Regions from separate parts of the Homo sapiens genome. Here region 2 is linked to region 1. The links are contacts of gene promoters, found by promoter capture Hi-C in human tissues and cell types (Jung and others, 2019). All regions are on one chromosome and are shown on one strand. Each heading gives the region's core, a stretch centred on a gene start or on the middle of the fragment in contact. The rest is flanking DNA. Distances are from core to core; before and after follow the strand shown.

The links. The method cuts DNA at HindIII sites, captures the fragments that hold promoters and counts their contacts. A contact is called where the count stands out against the background at its distance.
Region 2: a fragment that was not itself captured here is called in contact with the fragment with the promoter of MRPL48 in region 1 in 3 of the 25 tissues and cell types used here (IMR-90 fibroblasts, mesenchymal stem cells and spleen).

Annotation. Positions count from the first base shown.
Region 1 is chr11:73,786,557-73,789,390 of GRCh38, reverse strand. It overlaps MRPL48 (mitochondrial ribosomal protein L48), which reads right to left and starts at 1,517. Exons shown (of 8, transcript NM_016055.6): 1 at 1,399-1,517. The coding sequence starts at 1,419. RefSeq lists enhancers at 1,304-1,383, 1,524-1,583. The HindIII fragment of the contact is 15,089 bases long and covers 1-2,834 here.
Region 2 is chr11:73,709,794-73,712,618 of GRCh38, reverse strand. The region is part of intron 5 of RAB6A (RAB6A, member RAS oncogene family); the gene reads left to right. Among named protein-coding and RNA genes, the nearest start is that of RAB6A, 50 kb to the left of the region's middle. The HindIII fragment of the contact is 7,101 bases long and covers 1-2,825 here.

The DNA.
Region 1 (2,834 bases), core at 268-2,767:
ATGCTGGCCTTAATGACAGATTTCCATGGGCTCTTTTCCAGGAGTTCCAGACCAGCCTGAGCAATATGGTGAAACATGGAGAACCGAATGGTTGGAAATAGTATTCCTTGAAAAATAATCCCTCCCTTTTAGCCCTTCTTGGAACCAAGGCAAATCAAGGAGTGTAGTCACCAGTGTGACCATCTTTAACAATGGAATTTTGAAACTTTCTGATTTTTTTTTCTATTATCTTGGCACCATATTTGGCCAAATTCTTACAAACTGGCTAAGGTGAACAAGTGAATTGTTTCATAAAGGATGAAGTGAGGCGTGGGCCCTCACACATTCAAGGGCAGCCCCAAGGTAACCACAGGTAGACCCATGAGCTGCAACGACCATGCTGACCTATGAATCATGGAAATATAGTTGCCACAATTAATGCCTAAAACAAAATTTTAATATAAATTGCTAAAATGAGTCATTAATCTAAGCAGCATGATACAATTGAAAGAGCACAAATGAAATCTGTTAAATCTGTTAAGGGAACGGGAGAAAGCCCAGGAACACATTTATAGTGGTTCATACGGTTTTATGACAGTCACTTAAATAAGGTTTTGGAAACGAAAATGTTGTTAATTATTGCAGGGCGCGGTGGCTCATGCCTGTAATCCCGGCACTTTGGGAGGCCGAGGCGGGCAGATCACGTGGTCAGGAATTCGAGACCAGCCTGGCCAACACAGTGAAACCCCGTCTCTACTAAAAATACAAAAATTAGCCCGGCATGGTGTCCCGCGCCTGTAGTCCCAGCTACTGAGGAGGCTGAGGCAGGAGAATCGCTTGAACCCGGAAGGCGAAGGTTGTGGTGAGCCGGGATCGCACCACTGCACTCCAGCCTGGGCAACAGAGCGAAATCCGTCAAAAAAAAAAAAAAAAAAAAAAGAAAGAAAAGAACAAAAACCTAGTTTATTACTGCTGTTTCCTTATTACCAGGTAGCTTCACATCCTCATCAGTTCAGCAAGTCAAAACTGCATTCTTAGAAAAAATTCTGGAAGTTGATAACTGAATGCAAATATAAAATGACCTGCCCAAGGTCACACAGTTAATCGGGACCGTATCCTGGTGTCGTGATTCCCATCGCAGAGCTCTCCCTTTTCCAGAAACTGGGTGGAGAGAGTGGCATGTGGTGTGGGCGTGGCACGGGTCGGCTCGGCAGAGTTCGCCCCGGGTGGAAAGGAATCTGCTCAGCCCCTTCAACGCCAGGCAGCCGCATGTGCTGCTGGGAAGGACCTTGGGCGCCCCAGTGTCTCATCCCCGGATGTCCGCGCGCCGCCACCTCCCCGCTCTGCACCCTCCGCCATCTCCCCTCTCTGCACCGTCCGCCATCTCCCCGCGCCCCGCGTGCGTGGAATCTACGTTACCTTTTCCAAGGTTCCGCTCATCCTTTGCTGCTGCGCGGCCTCTAGCTGTGCAAACCGAAGACCGGACCCTGCAGCCGCGTTCCCAGGGCGTCTGAAAACACTGAAGGAACGGCCTTGACCAGGTGCAGCAGCAATATCCCACCGAGACTCACTCAACTTCCACATCATTTTAGTTCCGGAAGCTTCTGAAATTCAGAGTCTAGAAATTCTCCTGCTTTCCACCCTCACTCAGGTTGTCACATTCACTGCTGTTTCTCCAGAAAGAATTAATTACCATCTCTGTGTTACCCCAGTACTTAGCACACAATTCTAATTTTTCGCTTACAATATTATACACTAATGATTTGTTACCACCTCTTCTCTGTATTTGAAAGTTCTTAAAAGACTGAGATCCTGTCTGATTAATTCCTTTCAGCGTCTAGCACAGATCTGACTTTTTTGTTTGTTTGAGACGGAGTCTCGCTCTGTTGCGCAGGCTGGAGTGTAGTGGCACGATCTCAGCTCACTGCCACCTCCGCCTCTCGGGTTCAAGCAATTCTGTCTCCAAGTAGCTGGGATTACAGGTGCCCGCCACCACGCCCGCCTAATTTTTATATTTTTACTAGAGATGAGGTTTCTCCATGTTTGTCAGGCTGGTCTTGAACTCCCGACCTCAGGTGATCCGCCCGCCTCGGCCTCCTAAAGTGCTGGGATTACAAGCGTGAGCCACCAGGCCCAGCCAATCATCTCTTAAATTGAGTTTAGAAGTCAGATTTCCACGTCCTGTGCTAGATGCTGGAATAAATTAGTCAGGATCTCAGTCCTTGAGGAACTCAATCAAAATAATAGCAAAAAATAATTAGTATCTAGTAACAAATAATTAGTATCTAGTATGGTAAGTGAAATACCAGAATTGTGTGCAAAGTACTGAGGTAACACAGATACGACAATTAATTATGCTTGGAAATATAATGGACCAGGCATACCTCCTCCAGTACAGTGATTGATTATTGCCTAATAAATGCTATTGGGGTTTTAGAAGTGAAATTTTAAATAAGAAAAAAAAAATCAATCAAATGCTAGTATGTGCCAGGTCGGTTCTTTATGGGTGTATGGGTTCATTTAGTCTTTCCAATAACCCTATGAGGCTGAGGATCATTATACCCATTTCACAGATGAGGAACAGAGACAGGAAGAAGGTACCTAGTTAACATAATGTTATATAAGTGGTGAGCTGTTTCATTTCCGTGCCTGTGCTTCATCTATTTTATGGGACTGTGACTATAGGTTTGCAAAAGGGCAGGTTGGCAGCCAGAGAGTTTCTTTCCTTGTCTAGTCCAGGTAAATACAATCTAATAAGATACATGGCCGGGTGCGGTGGCTCATGCCTGTAATCCCAGCACTTTGGGAGGCCAAGGCAGGCGGATCACAAGGTCGGGAGTTTGAGACCAGCCTGA
Region 2 (2,825 bases), core at 203-2,702, 77 kb after region 1:
AGCACTTTGGGAGGCCAAGGCAGGTGGATTACCTGAGGTCAGGAGTTTGAGACCAGCCTGGCCAACCTAGTGAAACCTCGTCTCTACTAAAAATACAAAAATTAGCCGGGCGTGGTGGCATGTGCCTGTAATCCCAGCTCCTCAGGAGGCTGAGGCAGGAGAATTGCTTGAGCCCAGGAGGTGGAGGTTGCCGTGAGCTGTGATTGTGCCACTGCACTCCAGCCTGGCTAACAGAGTGAGACTGTCTCAAAAAAAAAAAAGGAAAAGCTAGGAACAGACCCAGTTTCATATGGAAAATAAGTATGAAGGTGGTACCTCAAATCACTGGGGAAAATGAACTATGTAATAAATTGATTGGAGTAACTGGTTAAGTGTATAGAAAAGATAAAATTGGATCAAGTTCTCATATTACACTAGGACAAATTCTAAAGGGATTAGAGATTTAATTGTGAAAATAAAATAAGGACTAACTGAATTCTGGTTCTTAATGATACTAATGCTATGGCACAAAATAAGGGAAAATGTAAAGTTTGATTACTTAAAACATTATAAACAAAGCAAATGGCAAACTAGGGAAAAGTATTTGTAAATCGTATCAAAAATGGCTAATATCCCAAATAAAAAAGCCTCTAAAAATAGAGAAGAAAAAAGATAAACATCACTATAGAAAAATTGACTAGAAATATGAACGGTTCATGGAGAAAGTAACATAGCTCTTAATTATCTGAAAAGAAGCTCTGTCTTGCTCTTACTGAAGTACTGATTGAAACTGCACTGAGAAATATTTTTGCCTCAGATTCAGACTGCCAGAATTCCAAGTTTGTTGAAATCTTCTGATAGCAAGGCTATAAGGAAAACAGTTACTCTCATAAATTACTGAGGCAATGCAGAATGGTAATACTCCTATGGAGGAGAGAGAGTTGATTTTTGGCAATATCTAATATCGACATTTAGCCTTTGACCTGGAAATCCCACTTCTAGGAATCTCCTCAAGATACACTGGTAAGAGTACAAAAAGACATATGTACAAGTCTATTTCCTATAGCACTATTTGTAATACCTAGCACTATTTGTAATATCTAAAGACTGTAAACAACGCAGGTGCCCACAAAAGGAAAATGGTTTGACAAACTTACGAACATCCTTTTAAAGGAGTACTAGACAGGTACAAAAAGGAATGAAGAATGTATATATTACTATGGAGTGAATCTTCAGGGTATATGACTAAGTGAAAAAATGCAAGGTGAAGTAGTATGTAACATATGGTACAGTTTACTTAAGAGAGAAATACAGATGTATATACACATTACCTAAAGCAAAATGAGGACCCTACTGGGCTGCCATCCCAGCTGGACTGCTGCTGTGGAGCTCAGCATCAAGTACTTCCAGGAGAAGCTTCAGCAGGACCTAGAGGCAGAGCATGGTAGAGGTAGAGGATACAGCCCTCATACCACCGTGCTGTATGTCCATCTTTCAAGTCCTGGTGGTGCCCGCAGAGTTTGAAGGGAAGCCACTGCTTCAGAGATACCAGGTGGTAAATGCATGCCTAGTGGAAGTGTGCTCCTCTGCATCTATGCCTTTGAGCAGAAAGCCTTTGAGTCCCAATTAGTGGGCCCATGAGTGGCCAAAATGAGGGACTGGGACCTGTATAGCCGTTAAACTATAAATCAGGGCCAAAAAGGAAAGATAAATTATAAGTTTAAAGAAAATGGGCTAGGCATGGTGACTTACACCTCTATTCCCAAAGGAAGCTGAGGCAGAAGGATCATTTGAGGTCAGGAGTTCGAGGTTACAGTGAGCTACAATCCTGCCACCGCACTTATATGTGCAACAGAGCAAGACCTTGTCTCAAAAAAAAAAAAAAATTAACTTTTTTTTTTTCAAGACTGAGTCTCTCTCTGTTGCCCAGGCTGGAGTGCAATAGCACAACCTCGGCTCACTGCAACCCCCACTTCCTGGGTTTAAGTGATTCTCCTGCTTCAGCCTCCTGAGTAGCTGGGACTACAGGGATGCACCGCCACACCCAGCTAATTTTCATATTTTTAGTAGAGATGGGGTTTTATCATGTTGGCCAGGCTGGTCTTGAACTCTGACCTCAAATGATCCACCCGCCTTGGCCTCCCAAAGTGCTGGGATTACAGGTGTGAGCCACCACACCCGGCTAGATCTTAACTGTTTTTAGTAAACATGTTGGTGATGATGTTGGATATTGTTATTTCAAAATGATTGTCTGTATTCTGCATAAAATAAATGAATACTTTGCTTAATGATTGAGAACTGGCATTTTGGACACGGGAGATGGAAATACAGATATAAGATTAATAAAGTTAAATATAAAAAATATAAGCATGGGGGCCGGGCGCGGTGGCTCACGCCTGTAATCCCAGCACTTTGGGAGGCCAAGGCGGGTGGATCACGAGGTCCGGAGATCGAGACCATCCTGGCTAACACGGTGAAACCCCGTCTCTGCTAAAAAAAAAAAAACACAAAAAATTAGCCGGGTGTGGTGGCGGGAGCCTGTAATCCCAGCTACTCCGGAGGTTGAGGCGGGAGAATGGCGTGAACCTGGGAGGTGGAGCTTGCAGTGAGCCGAGATCGTGCCACTTCACTCCAGTCTGGGCGACAGAGCAAGACTCCGTCTCAAAAAAAAAAAAAAATATATATATATGTGTGTGTGTGTGTATGTATATATATGTGTATATATATGTATATATGTGTGTGTATATATATGTATATATGTATGTATATGTGTATATATGTATATATGTATATATATGTGTATATATGTATATATATGCATGAATTCATTACATTTTTTAGCATTT